5 separate regions of the Homo sapiens genome follow, and all the other regions are linked to region 5. The links are contacts of gene promoters, found by promoter capture Hi-C in human tissues and cell types (Jung and others, 2019). All regions are on one chromosome and are shown on one strand. Each heading gives the region's core, a stretch centred on a gene start or on the middle of the fragment in contact. The rest is flanking DNA. Distances are from core to core; before and after follow the strand shown. Region 1 overlaps NBEA (neurobeachin). Region 2 has its middle 19 kb from the start of NBEA. Region 3 overlaps N4BP2L1 (NEDD4 binding protein 2 like 1). Region 4 overlaps NBEA (neurobeachin). Region 5 holds the start of RFC3 (replication factor C subunit 3).

Evidence for each region. Contacts are between HindIII fragments. The study calls those that stand out against the background at their distance.
Region 1: a contact is called between a fragment that was not itself captured here and the fragment with the promoter of RFC3 in region 5, in 1 of the 25 tissues and cell types used here (dorsolateral prefrontal cortex).
Region 2: a fragment that was not itself captured here is called in contact with the fragment with the promoter of RFC3 in region 5 in 1 of the 25 tissues and cell types used here (dorsolateral prefrontal cortex).
Region 3: a contact is called between a fragment that was not itself captured here and the fragment with the promoter of RFC3 in region 5, in 1 of the 25 tissues and cell types used here (lymphoblastoid cells).
Region 4: a fragment that was not itself captured here is called in contact with the fragment with the promoter of RFC3 in region 5 in 1 of the 25 tissues and cell types used here (dorsolateral prefrontal cortex).

The regions. Positions count from the first base shown.
Region 1 is chr13:34,998,514-35,001,389 of GRCh38, reverse strand. The region is part of intron 1 of NBEA (neurobeachin); the gene reads right to left. Among named protein-coding and RNA genes, the nearest start is that of NBEA, 58 kb to the right of the region's middle. The HindIII fragment of the contact is 4,629 bases long and covers 1-2,876 here.
Region 2 is chr13:34,922,166-34,925,020 of GRCh38, reverse strand. No RefSeq gene overlaps it. Among named protein-coding and RNA genes, the nearest start is that of NBEA, 19 kb to the left of the region's middle. The HindIII fragment of the contact is 3,686 bases long and covers 1-2,855 here.
Region 3 is chr13:32,402,557-32,405,332 of GRCh38, reverse strand. It overlaps N4BP2L1 (NEDD4 binding protein 2 like 1), which reads left to right. Exons shown (of 5, transcript NM_052818.3): 4 at 936-1,012; 5 at 2,133-2,776. The coding sequence ends at 2,391. Among named protein-coding and RNA genes, the nearest start is that of N4BP2L1, 24 kb to the left of the region's middle. The HindIII fragment of the contact is 4,723 bases long and covers 1-2,776 here.
Region 4 is chr13:35,197,700-35,200,682 of GRCh38, reverse strand. All of the region lies in intron 31 of NBEA (neurobeachin), which reads right to left. Among named protein-coding and RNA genes, the nearest start is that of NBEA, 260 kb to the right of the region's middle. RefSeq lists an enhancer at 400-2,548. The HindIII fragment of the contact is 3,208 bases long and covers 1-2,983 here.
Region 5 is chr13:33,816,568-33,819,515 of GRCh38, reverse strand. It overlaps RFC3 (replication factor C subunit 3), which reads right to left and starts at 1,367. Exons shown (of 9, transcript NM_002915.4): 1 at 1,251-1,367. The coding sequence starts at 1,337. The HindIII fragment of the contact is 5,146 bases long and covers 1-2,186 here.

The DNA.
Region 1 (2,876 bases), core at 181-2,680, 1.2 Mb before region 5:
AGCGCTGCAATAAACATGGGAGTGCAAGTATCTCTTTCATATGTTGATTTTCTTTCATTTGGATATATCCTATGTAGTGGGACTGCTGGATCATATGGTAGTTCTATTTTCAGTTATTTGAGAAACTTCCATACTGTTGTCCATAATGGTTGTATTAATGTACATTCCTACCAACCATGTATAAGAGTTCCCTTTTCTCTGTATCCTACCCAGCATTTGTTTCTTCCTTCAGTTACCCTAGTTATTATTTTTAATAGAAGTTTGAAAAGATTTAAGAACTACGCCACAAATCAGACACATTGACAAGCACCTATAGTCCCAACTACTCAGGAGGCTGAGATGAGAGGATCACCTGAGTCCAGGAGTTCAAGTTCAACCTCAGAAACATACTAAGACCTCCTCTCTTAACAACAACAACAACAACAAAAAAAAACCAACTATGTTATCATTGCTGCCAAGTGTTTCTCAAGGCTTTTTCTTTTTTGAAATTCAAAATTACACTAAAAAACAAAAACAAAAAAGGAAAGTAAAAAAACAAATTTAATTGCTATTGATATTTTTGGTATATCTGCTTAAACTTCTTTAGGTTTTTAAAAAAACAATAATATGTGATGGCATTTTTAATGTAAAAGCATTTATCTATAAAGATAAAGCAAAATTTTCCACTTGACCTTCACACCTCCCCATCTCAACCCCTTCCCCTCTATTTCCTAAAGGATACAGCTATTAAATGCTTGCTCGATCAGTATCCCTGCATTTGTGTATGCTTTTAAAACGTGTGTGTGTGTGTGTGTGTTATATATATTATAAATATATAATCTATATAACATATATAGAGTGAATGTGTGTGTATCTCTTATAATCCATGTAAAATGTTAACAAAGTATCTGGCACATATAAATGCTTAGTAAATTGTAGGTGGTATTATTATAGCAGTTTACATGTAGATTTATTCTTTTCCTAACCAAGTTTAACATTAGCAAGCAAGCATATCTATCTTCTCCGAAACAGGACCAGAACCATAGCTTACTATTTTACTGTCCTCTATACTTCCTCTCCCAATTCCCATGTAAATTTTTCAACTATATTTGAATTTAACAGCATGTTTTACTGCTTTCTTTGTGCATCATTACATCCTGTATCCCATTATTTTCTCCTGGTTCATTGCCCTTCTTGCTAGAGTATATCCATTAATAATTCTTTCAGCAATGATCTATGAAAAAGTTTCTGAGTCCCTGTATGCCTGAAATTGTCCTTATGTCTATCTTATTCTAAAATGTTAATGTCTGGATAGGACATTACTAAATTCAAAATTATCTTCCCCTGACCCTTAAAGATATTACTGTACCCAATTTTGCTGCAGATAATCTGTTGATAATCTAAATACATATAAAGGTATGTAGACAGACAGAAGGAAGATAGATACAGACATACCGACGGATGATGGGCATCACAGTTTAGTTTCCATTGTTCTGATTACCAGTGAATGTAAGTACTGTATACTGGTTAAGAGTCTGGGCTTTGAAATAGAATGCCTGTGTTAAAATCCAGACACTGTACTTACTGGATATATAACCTTATCAAGTTACCTAAACATATAACTGTGTTCAGTCCCACATCTGTTAAGTGTGGATAATAATAGTGTCTACCTCATAAGGTTGTTGTTGTTAAAGGGAGATACTCAAACAAATGAATTCAAACCCATAAGGCTGAGTCAAAAAAAGAAAAAAAATCACAGAAAAATTCACACACAGGCTTCCACTTTTATAAAGCTTATTTTTTTAAAAAAAATCACTAATGACAGTAAGCATAAGAACAATCATGGCAAAGCAGGTATTACACAGATTTCAAAGTGAGAACACTCTGCTGAAAGAAGGTGATTTTTAAAAAAGTGGTCTAGAAGCAAAATACCTGGAGAATGTCAAGCTCTTCACTCATCATAAGGTACAGAGGACTTGTGAGAACAAAAAGCACTTAGATTTCAGGTAAGGGGGTAAAGAGAGTATTGGGGGAGAGCTGTGAGAAAACAAAATTTTTTTATTGAAAAGGAGCCAAAGGATAAATGTTTGAGGTGATGGATACCCTATTTACCCTGATGTGATTACTACACACTGTACACCTGTATCAAAATATCTAAAGTACTCCACACATATATTCCCCATATTATATACCCACAAAAATTTTTAAAAATATATTTATTGACTGACCAAACAATAGAACAAAAGAAGGATTCTTACCCCAATTTTGTTTGTTATAAATATTTATAGTATGTCTCTATTTCTACCATAAGGATATAAGCTTGGTTAGTTGTTGAGGGAAGTCAGGGACCCCAAACGGAGGGACCAGCTGAAGCCATGGCAGAAGAACATAAATTGTGAAGATTTCATGGACACTTAGTAGTTCCCCAAATTAATATTTTTATAATTTCTTACGCCTGTCTTTACTGCAATCTCTGAACATAAATTGTGAAGATTTCATGGACACTTATCACTTCCCCAATCAATACCCTTGTGATTTCCTATGCCTGTCTTTAATCTCTTAATCCCGTCATCTTCGTAAGCTGAGGAGGATGTATGTCGCCTCAGGACCCTGTGATGATTGCGTTAACTGCACAAATTGTACAGCATGTGTGTTTGAACAATATGAAATCTGAGCATCTTGAAAAAAAGAACAGGATAACAGCAATGTTCAGGGAAAAAAGAGAGATAACCTTAAACTCTGACTGCCGGTGAGCTGGGCAGAACAGAGCCATATTTCTCTTCTTTCAAAAGCAAATGGGAGAAATATCACTGAATTCTTTTTCTCAGCAAGGAACATCCCTGAGAAAGAGAATGCGTCCCTGAGGGGAGGCCTCTAAAATGGCCGCTTTGGGGGCA
Region 2 (2,855 bases), core at 42-2,541, 1.1 Mb before region 5:
CCTATCACTGGACAAAATGCTTCACATATATTATATCATTTACTCTTTGACAACTTTATTAGGTAGGTACTATTACTATCTATATTTTATAGATAAGAAAAAAGAGGGTAAAAACTTGCCAAAGTTACAAAGCTTAGAAGTGTACCAGTTGGGATTTGAATCTAGGCATCCTGCCTCTGCAATCCACAGTGGCTTTCTTGTGCCAAAAGGCTTGCAGTTCCCCAGACTTGACTTTCTCAAAATCTGTCTTTCACATGCTCTTCCAACTGTCTGGAAAATCTTTCACAACCTCGTTCTACCTGTGGTACTCCTGTTCACCCCACAAGACTTGACTCCATCTGTCCCCCCTCCATGAAAGTTTCTCTGAATCTCAGCACTTTGGGAGGCTGAGGCAGGTGAATCGCCTGAGGTCAGAAGTTTGAGACCACCCTGGGCAACATGGTGAAACCCCGTCTTTACTAAAATACAAAAAACTAGCCAGGCATGGTGGCGCACCCCTGTAATTCCAGCTGCTCAGGAGGCTGAGGCTGGAGAATTACTTGATCCTGGGAGGCAGAGGTTGCAGTGAGCCAAGATCACACCACTGCACTCCACCTTGGCTTACAGAGTGAGACTCCATCAAATAAAAAAGAAAGAAAGGAAGAAAAGAAAGGAAGGAAGGAAGGAAGGAAGAAAAAAAGGAAAAGGAAAGGAAGGAAGGAAGGGAAAGAAAGGAAAGAAGAGAAAAAGAAAAAAAGAGAGACAGAAAGTAAGAAAAAGAAAAAAGAAAGAGAAAAAGGAAAGAAAGAAAGAAGGAAGGAAAGGGAAAGAAAGAAGGAAAGAAAGAAAAAGAAAGAAAGAAAAGAAAGAAAGAAAAAGAAAGAAAGAAAGAGAAAGAAAAGAAAAGAAAAGAAAAGAAAGAAAGAAAGAAAGAAAGAAAGAAAGAAAGAAAGAAAGAAAGAAAGAAAGAGAAAGAAAGAAAGAAAGAAAAAGTTTCTCTGACTCCCTGGTCAGGGCTCATGCCTTGGCACTGAGGGCGTCTTGCAAAACTGAAGGAGGCCACTTGGTGTAGCAGACAGAAAATAATTGTGATATGAGATAGGCCTGAATTGGATTTATGGCTCTATTGCATATTGGTTTTGTGATTTTGGGAAAGTCATTTAATCTCTCTGAATTTTAGTTTCTTTAGGGATTAATAGTACCATTTCCAGGGAGCTGTTATTAGGATAAGAAAACAACCAGAACACAGCAAGAATTCATTAGTGCCCTCACCGCCCTTCCTCCGTTGCAGCCCTCAGTACCTGAATGGCAATCATGCATCTTCTCACTGGCCTGTGGATTGCTTCCCCTTTCATCTTTGGCTCTGCAGTATTCAGTGTCACTAGTAAAATGTGTGAAATGAATGAATCGACAGCTGATGCTTAGTACCTAATGACACAAGTGAATGAATCTTTTTGTTCATTTTGTGGCCAGAAAGATAGTGTAATTAAGTAATAACAACGGAAGAAAGAGAAACTCCAGCTATACTTTGTCCTTTTCTCAAGTAGCATCTAAAACTTTTTCCTTCTTTTAAAACATTATCACTGAAGGATCTCTTTGAATGTGTCTTGAATTTTACATAAGCAGATGATCACAACTCAACATAATATTAGAAGATTATATTATTTTAAAAATTGGTTCATAGTTTTATAGTCTTGGAATATCTATCTATCTAGGTATCTATCTATCTATCTACCTACCTACCTACCTACAAAATATATTTAGGCTGCTTTCCTGAGGCTATTTTGTTATTCCATTATTTCATTTTTTTCAAGATCCTGATATTCCCTGGTGTATCAGGTCTAGGTATTTATGATTAGGAGAAGAAATGATTCAGTGGCAGCTCTCCAGGATTTTGAATTATGAGATATGAAACCAGAAATTGCAACTTACATGGATTGGTTGGAACACTGTGTATTACTGTTTCTGTGTCAACTTCTCTTCTCCCTTGTTTATATGTGTTTAATATGCATTTCAGCACTATGTATTTGTGAACATTTGAACCCAAACCATAGAACAATTGAAGATGTCATAGTTGGAAAGGCATAAAAGGTCATTCTAAGTGTGTGAACAAGTTAGAGAACTACAAAATTAGAGATCATTATAGCTAGATTCCAGAGAGAGACTTCATTGCTTTTCAAAGAAATTAAGCCATAGATAATCATGACAGGTTGAAATAGGTCAGGATTTCTAAAAATAGTGTCATGTAAATTACCTATGTAAACACATTAAAATATAAATTATTTGAAAAATGAATAGTAGGTCCTCAGAATAACCCTACATATAAGTATATAATAAAAGTATGAGTTCAAGAGCAGAATGTTAAATGAAGCTGCCTGTCTTGGTTTCTTTACTAAGATTCTTCTATTCTGCTTTCTGAAACTGTTACGTTCCCATTATAAACTTTGTACCAAGTTAAAAGTAAGGCCCCTTTTCCCCCTTTATTCTGTCTTCCTGGCTCTCCAGTCCTAGGAAGTTAAAAAGACTCAGAAAATCCCATCTTTACTTCTATGAAGTTTGGGAGAAGAGTCAAGATAGGCTATAAAGTGTTGCACTTCATAATCCAAGCATCCTTCTACTGATAGTAGAGTTTCATTATCCTTCCTCAGATATATGCAATGACAAAAATAGGTAATGAGAAAGTGTGCACCCAAGTAACTCTTTGAGTATATAAGGGCTGATTAAGTTGAAAGAAGAATTGCCGCCAGACGCAGTGGCTCACGCCTGAAATCCCAGCACTTTGGGAGGCCGAAGCAGGCGGATCACTTGAGGTCAGGATTTCAAGACCAGCCTCGCCAACATGGCGAAACCCCGTCTCTACTAAAATTATAAAAGGT
Region 3 (2,776 bases), core at 93-2,592, 1.4 Mb after region 5:
TTGCCGTGGTGGCCAGCCTGGTCTCAAACTCCTGAGCTGAAGTGATTCACCCGCCTCGGCCTCCCAAAGTGCTGGGATTACAGGTGTGAGCCACCGCGCCCGGCCTCATTTTACTTTTTATCTTCTGGATATGTATAATCTTTTTCAGCCATCCTCAGCTATTAATTCGACTTAGAAATGAGAGGTTTCCGGTTGTGTTATTTAAATCCTTCCCAGTTGAGAAGCGCCCATCTCAAGAATGAAAAGGAAACCTTTTTGCTTAGCTCTTTCCACTCTATGTTTTATAAACACAATAAATTATAGTGATAATAGAAAATTCAGTTTGAGATAAAGTAGTAGTCAATTTATGAATGCAAAGAATATTTGGATGTTTATAAGGAAATTATAATAGTTTTCTAAACTCAAGGAAATGGGGCCCAGAGCATTGACCCAAATTGTATTGCATAATGGGGAGAGCTACTTTTGGAAGGAAGATGATGTGAAGTATGTGACTATCACTTTTATTTCACCAGTTATGTTCCTATGGTACTCCCACTTTCTAAAGGAAGGCATGAGGAATAGGACAAGGCATCTGACAAGTAAATCTACAAAAATCCCATAAGTGACTTTGAGACGTCACTGAGTTCATTCATACCGGTGTTCAGGACGTTTTAAACTAGCTCAGTCATCTATTTTTAAAGATGTCCAAAACAAAGAACCTTTACAAATTTCCTACATACTAGATAAAATTGAGCAAAATTTATCATGGAGAATTATGAGAGTGGCTAAGTATGGGAATGAAACAACTGCATTTATTGTGATAAATTAAGGCATTGGATTACTGGTAAAACAAAAGGAATTCTGAAAAGATTTGTAGTAAATGTTAAATGGCAGCATAAACATTCCCAAACATACATACTATGTCTTCAATGTTTTATGTACTTTTGAAAAATCAGGCACTTGAAAATAACTATGAAGTTATATTCCGAGAACCTGACACTCGCTGGAAATTCAACGTTCAAGAGTTAGCAAGGTACTTCTTTGTTTTTCTAGTTCCTCATTATGTATCCTGCTATTTTCAGGTATTTCAGACCGAACAAAAGAATCTTTTCAGGCTGGAAATGGACATGGTAGTTTTCAGGCCAGAAATGGTAATTCTTGGAAATTGATAACTTTGGAATTATTAATGTGAAGACTTTAGTTTTGGGTCAGTTTTCTAATATAATGCTAAATGCTAAATCTTGGCTTGGACTTGGTCCTTTAAAAGGATGCATTTAACATTCTGCTAAAATGCTTCTTCATCAAGGAACATTTAAAAGCACTTTATCTGCATGGGACTGCACATGTCAATGGTGTTTTTGCATTTAGGCTAAAGATCTTTAGAGGTTGAGCAGTCTGCGATTCATTTATGATCTAGATGCTGCTTCTAATTTATAAAGCAATAAATGTTCAAATAATACTAACTTGTTGATTGAATGCATGGGTTCAGATATTCTCTGTCTGTATTATTTGATAATGTCATTGACTTAAAATAGCCAGTGAGGTAAGAATTTACTTCTTAGGAGTAAGGCTGGTTCCTCTTATGGTAATAGGCAGATAGTGTCTTCAAAGTGGATCTGTGGACTACTCCATCAGAATTGCCTCAGGTGGCTATTAAAATCCGAGTTCATGGACCCCATTCAGTAGTTGGAATCTCTGGTAATTATATTTCTAACTATATCCCCAGTTGATTCTTCTGCCCACTAGAATTTAAGATTGTTTTAATAAGTATCTCCTAGAAATATATCTCAGGGACTGATTAACATAAGTAGATAGATATATGCATGACATTAACAGGCAAATGTATGATTTTTTAAAAATCTCATGGTGTTCTTTTATGTCTTGAAGCACGTAATTGAGAGGACCAGAAACAAAGCATTTCTGAAGCTTTAGCTCCTTGCTAGCCTCAGGGTGGTTTGGGGGTGTGCAGGGCAGCATGAAAAACATGAGTGGAGGCTGAAAGAGAACTGCTGAACAAGATGTTTGTTATGCTTTTGCCAGAGCTAGGTCCTGAGAACAGGGACTGCAATATCTGCAATACTAGAGGACTTGTAAAATATAAGTAACTCATTGTGGTATCCTGCCTTAACTAAATGCATTTTTTTTCCATGTAGAAGAAACATTCATGGTGTCTCAAGAGAAAAAATCCACCGAATGAAAGAACGGTATGAACACGATGTTACTTTTCACAGTGTGCTTCATGCAGAAAAGCCAAGCAGAATGAACAGAAACCAGGACAGGAATAATGCATTGCCTTCCAACAATGCCAGATACTGGAATTCCTACACAGAGTTTCCAAACCGGAGGGCCCACGGTGGATTTACAAATGAGAGCTCCTATCACAGAAGGGGCGGTTGTCACCATGGATATTAGAGGCCTATCTTACAGCCAGGCAGAATTTTCCTAAGTCAGTTTCTACTTCAGTTTTTGTTATTTTTTGTTGCATTTTAGTCAGAGCTCCAATTCCAGTGTAAATAGCTGAACTCAAAAGTTTCTGAGCAAAGTCATTATATTCACTTTCTTCACCAAAATTTGTTAAAGTGCTTCTATATGCATGGTCTGATGCTGGGAATTCTGCAGATTTGAGTAAACAGTCTCTTTCTCTAGGGTAAGAATTTGAAACCAAAACTTGAGAACACACCCAAGAATATATTTACATAGGTTCATAGATGAAATAAAGTGTTTATATTATATATAAGCTTCAGTACCATTTGCTCTGAAGTGATCTATTTATTTTTTCAGGAAATTCATCTCCATC
Region 4 (2,983 bases), core at 355-2,854, 1.4 Mb before region 5:
AAAAAATACCTACTAGTTTCCCTGAATATATCAAACCCAGTAATTTGAATACAGGAGGTTTGCAAAATCTGAAAAAGTGAAGTGTAAGTTTGAGGTCTGTTAGCCAAAGAAGCAACACAACTATAAGCTTTGTGTGATATCACACACTTAAAACAATTTTTAAAAACATACTAACAGTTAAAAATGTATGAGAAGCACATTGCCCTCTATTTTTTTTTTTTTTTGTCTTTTGTTCAAACTAAGTGGGAATCTCTGGAAATCCTAGGAAGTTAAAACTAAACCAAAACATAGATATATATATATACCAAACACTCAAAAGATAAAAAGCATGCAGATATATAAGATTAAATTTTTAGTTTAAAAGGTAAGTAAAAGGTTAATTGGTGGCTTTAGATAAAAGCATTACTCCAAAGTAAAAGTTACACAGTACATGAAAAATAATAGCTCAATTAAAACATTTTATAAACCATCGATAAATATAGCAATCTATCTAAAGAGATAGTATTGTTAGAGAACTTGGCAACTTGATTTAAGAATTCTAAAATGAGATTATTAAGCTTTTCTGTTAAAAATAAAACCATCATAAATATTTCTCTCTGCCTCACAGTAACAGAACTTTGAAAAAATTGTTATAGTTTTATGATTGTATTTCCTCTTTACATACAGTGTTTGCTCATTATAGAACAGTACTAGAGGATCTCTAGCATTTTAATACTTCATGAGTACACATCTGTTCGGATCACTGAGTATAATCAAAGATATATACTTAATCTGCACAGATGACTGAAGGAAATAGAAAAAGAATCAGTACTTTCCTTATATGTACAGAACATTTATGTAATATTTCATAATCTGATGAAATATGTAATAGTAAAGAAAAAAGGTTTATTTTAATTAAGTCTAAATGTTTCTAAGAATTTGATGTTGCAATTTTTTATTATAAACTTCAAAACACTGAAATTCACCAATGCTCCATCCTAAGGGGTGAGATACACTCGACGTAGAACACAAGTTAACATAACTCAAATTATCCCAGTTGTTCTAGGAAATTATTTCCAAATTTAAAATCCAGGATAAGTATAAGGAAATCATTGTTAGCATGTCTGCAATATAATCAATAAACAACTGGTTAACAAAAGTAAAATCCTACATGAATTCTATTGAGACTGTACAATATTATTAGGAGTGTGATTTAGTTACAAAGAAGCGACCAACTGAGTTTATATCTACTTTTCAACTAAAGATTAAAATGAAAAACACGTTATTGGTAAAGTAAGACCCATGATAGATTCTGTGTTTGAAACCGGTAGCATTCAGGACTTTCATTCTAAAGCCTGTCATCCTGGATCTCATTTTCAACGAATTCAATCTGATGTTAAAAGACATGTCATAACTTGGATTTCAGACATTAGTGCTTCAGAAACATGTTTATATACCTCATAATGTAATTATAGCTACCTTAAGACAGATAAGGCAAATGGTAGCAATACCCTGGAAGTATAATTGAAAAATGCACTGGTCCAGAAGCACTTGTGGGGATGATGTCTCTGAAAAGCTGCTCAAAGCTTCAGAGTTTGAAGTTAAATTTTTGATGTTGTCACTCTCAATCTATTGAATGGCTGACAGACAATCAAACCCGTCTGGCTGGCTGGCAGCTCATTTTGCTGGCAGGTGGCAAACAATTAGACACACCAATTTGTGCCTCCTGATGACATTAAAGCATGAAACTAAGTTGTATGCAGGGCCTAGTGATTTGTGTGAAAGCATTTCAAAAATAATACTCTTTGCCGTGGCAACTCATTTCAAACTGCCACCTCCCATTATGGCTTTGAGTAGTGAAGACGACAGACTTGAGTTACGTGCAGTGCAAGGCCGCTTCTGTTCAATCCGTCATCAGCGCCCCCGAGACCTCAATCCCCTCCTTTCATCAATATCACCTCATCATTTACATTTGATAGTACTTGAGCTATTGCATATATTAACTACACTAGAGACTCTTTTCCTAAAAAGAACTGAAATATGCTTTGTGCTCTTCCATTTCATTTGTACTTATGCAATTTAGAATAATGATTCCACTCCTACTGCATTTTGTACAAATGCTATAGGAACATAAAAAGCTGTATTTTTCTTAAAGCAATATTCTCAAAAGTATAATAAATTTTGAGTAGCTAAGAATATTAGCACTCAGGTGACTGCTTTTTAAAGTTTTAATTAAAAAACTCATTCTAACAATAATCCAAATTAAAACAAAAAATTTTACTTAATGTTTATTTCATTGGATTTTCATATGTAAATCACAATAATCATCTGTATTTATTGGTTTGTATTTTACCAACATTTAAAGATATAATTTAAAATTAACTAGAATACAAAACTTAAATTACTATATATTACCTTATAGGCTTATAGAAATACACAAGTACATATACTTACATGCATATGTTTATACAAACTTATAAACACACATATAGGCATATCGTGAAAACATAAACCAAATATGTGAAAAAGGTGAAATAAATGTGAAACATCATAAGGAACACCCAGGGAACATCACTATATGAATGAACATCCAAACACAATATTAATACCAAAATACCAAAAAAAGAAAAATATTTCTTACATTTTATAGTCCTACCATTTTTTACTTTTTAAAACTTCTGACACCACACATTTTATCTATTATAGCAATTATTTGCAAACATCTTCTTACTACTCTCTAAATTCATAGAAGATAAAACTAATTTTATTCATCTTTATATTCTGCATGATAACCAGTGCCACTTAACATTTTCCACAACAGATTTTCAAGACGTATTTGTAAAACACTGGCAAAAGTGTTTACAGGCAAAGTTTAAATTATATTGTGTATTAAAAGGGTAATTCGGCCAGGTGCGGTGGCGCACGCCTGTAATCCTAGCACTTTGGGAGGCAAAGGCGGGTGGATCATGAGGTCAGAGTTCAAGACCAGCCTGGCCAAGATGTT
Region 5 (2,948 bases), core at 118-2,617:
ACAATCTTTTCTTATTATTTCTTATTTTTAAGACGCACTTAATTAAATAGTATCTGTAAATCTAAGAAAGGTCGGAAGGGAAAACCAGGGTATTGGGCAAAAACGTTTCCATCAGCATCATATATTAATTTGAGTTCCTTAAAAGGAGTGGATAAATGTCTTCCACAGACACTTTATTCTCCTAAAGATCCTTCTTTACTCTCTACTCCCTGGAAGATTCAGTTCGTTCTCACAAAATATTGCCATTGGGCACTTTTATCAACTACAACAGACAAAGAGGCATCAGGATAGAGGGGAGAGGATCTTTCACAAAGCTCTAATCTCAGCCACGCACGGTGGCCCACGCCTGTAATCCCAGCACTTTGGGAGGCCGAGGCAGGCGGATCACCTGAGGTCAGGAGTTCGAGACCAGCCTGGCCAACGTGGTGAAACCCCGTCTCTACTGAAAAATACAAAAATTAGCTGTGCGTGGTGGCGGGCGCCTGTAATCCCAGCTACTCGGGAGGCTGAGGCAGGAGAATCGCTTGAACCCGTGAGGCGGAGGTTGCAGTGAGCCGAGACCGCGCCATTGCATTCCAGCCTGGGCGACAACAGCTAAACTCCGTCTCAAAAAAAAAAAAAAAAAAAAAAAAAACTAATCTCAGGAACGTCCTAATACAATTTATTTGAGAATTAGAAACGATCTTTGGAGTAAATACATATTTACAACACTTTACTTGTAAATGACAATGACATCGAGAAATCTTAAGCCAGCTAGAAAGTAAATCACATGGTGTCATCTCCGCTCAAAATGCTCCAACGGCTTCTCGTCTTATTCTGAGACTGACTGGGTCTGCACTCCAACTCCATCCCAACACATACACCCATCTCCGATTACCCTTCCCGCTGGTTCACCACTATCGGCTACGCCGGCCTCCTGAGGTTCTTAGAACATGCCGTGCACATCCCTGCCCGGGAATTTTGCACTTGCTGTCCCCTCTTACCTGTTCCACTCTTTGCTCGGATTTCTGTATTTATGACTTTTCAATTTCCTTCAAGTCTCGGCTCAGATGCCACTTCTCAGTGGAGCTTTTCTTGTTTAAAAATACAAGCCAGCCTCCCACACCTCTTCCCCCTTCCCTGTGTTATTTTTCTCCATAGCACTTATCACCTTCCAATGCGGGCGGGAGAAGCACTGCTCCTCAGGGGGGCGCGAAACCCCGAGCCGGGGGGCCTCCCCTCTCCCACGCTCCCGGCCCCCGCAGACTCACCAGGTTCCGCAGCTGGGCCGCCTGCTCCTTGTGATAGTCCAGCCGTCCCAAGGAGCAGGGCCGATACTTGTCCACCCAGAGGCTCATGGCAGCTCGAGTTCCCGGGGGCCTACGCTTGAAAATCCCGCGCGAGCGCGCGTCCTCCCCACAACGCAGAGACAAGTTTTCCCGCGAGCTCCAAATCTCGTGACGTCACTACCGGTCGCGGCCGCGTAAATGATTTTGGACGGAAAGGCTACGGGGGCCGTGTGCAGACAAAATCAGCTGCCGCGTCGATGCCCTCTAGTTCTGAAGTTCACTGCTTTATTTATTTTCTCTTTGTTCGCACCGTCTATTATATTCTAGAAATTATCAAGCGGAATTGAAAATGTGGTTCTGACCCTTTTGGCGTCACATCCAGATACCTCAGAGAAGACCGTTCCTTTCATTTATTCATTCTTTCATTCACTTAATTCATTCAACAAAAATTTACTAAATATCTGCTAGGTGTGGAACTCTGTCCTCGGCACTAGAATATATACATCTCAGGGTTTCACTCACTTGGCAGGTACCCAGTAAAGCTTCATTGGATGAATCGCTTGAAAATGTCTGATCTTCACTATCCTTTGTTACCTCTATTCCTCAATATTCTTATTGGATTAGAAACAAAAGAATCAAGAGCATGGAAAAACTACCCAAATGTGGTCTGTAGGGGAGAAGACACGAGGTTAATATGCATTCTAAGTCTAGAATATTTGAAAGCCCTCCAATTAAAATGTGTAGAAGCATCTGAACCCCTCAGAAAAATATTCTGCATATGAAGTTGATATGCAACTTTTGAAGTTCTCTTCAAATAGTGCCTCTCAAAATGCACTTTACTCATTGTACATAATATTAATTCCTTATTTAATTTATGCTTTTATTTTATGTATTATTAAGAACCCTAAGTCCTGCCATTTGATTGCAAGGTCTTACAGGCAGGAAATGATTTCCAAATATACTTAATAACCTTTCACCAAGGTGCCTCTTACTCATTTATTAATCAATAATTTATCATGTTCTTCTATGAATCGTCATATTACATGAATTACTCCTGCAGGTAAGGTATTATCCACACCACCAAGTATAAGATTTAATCCCTGTTCTCGAGAAACTTTCTATAATAAGCCTGGAAGGCTTCTGCCTCAGGGCCTTTGCAATTACTGTTTCCTCTTCCTGGACTATGTTTCTCCAGTCAGCAGAGTTGGGTCCCTCATTTCCTTCAGGATGTTGGCTCAAGTATTATCTCCTCACTGAGGCTTCCCTGACCACCCTATTTAATATTGCAAAAAAGCTTCATCTTCTTTATGCTTCTCTCCTTTGGAATTGAAATGGAGGAAGTGTTTGAAATGAGAAGGTAAAGGAAATCAGAAGCAGGGATACTGAATTGTGGTCTATGTGTATATCATAATCATAATGAATGATAATGGAAATAAGTACTGAGAGGAATAAAGAGAAGAACCAAGTGCTAGAATGATCAATAATTTGGCAAGAGTGACCACAGGCATGACAGACAACTTCAATAAGGAGCAGTGGTTGATGGTCTCTACCGTGAAGACATGTCTCTACCATTGAAGCACATGAAGACATGTGCTTCAATATTGTTGGGGGTTCTGAGGAAGGAGAAATAGTGTGGTGACCCAGGAAGTCCAGTTAAATTTGAATTTCAGAAGCTTTTTC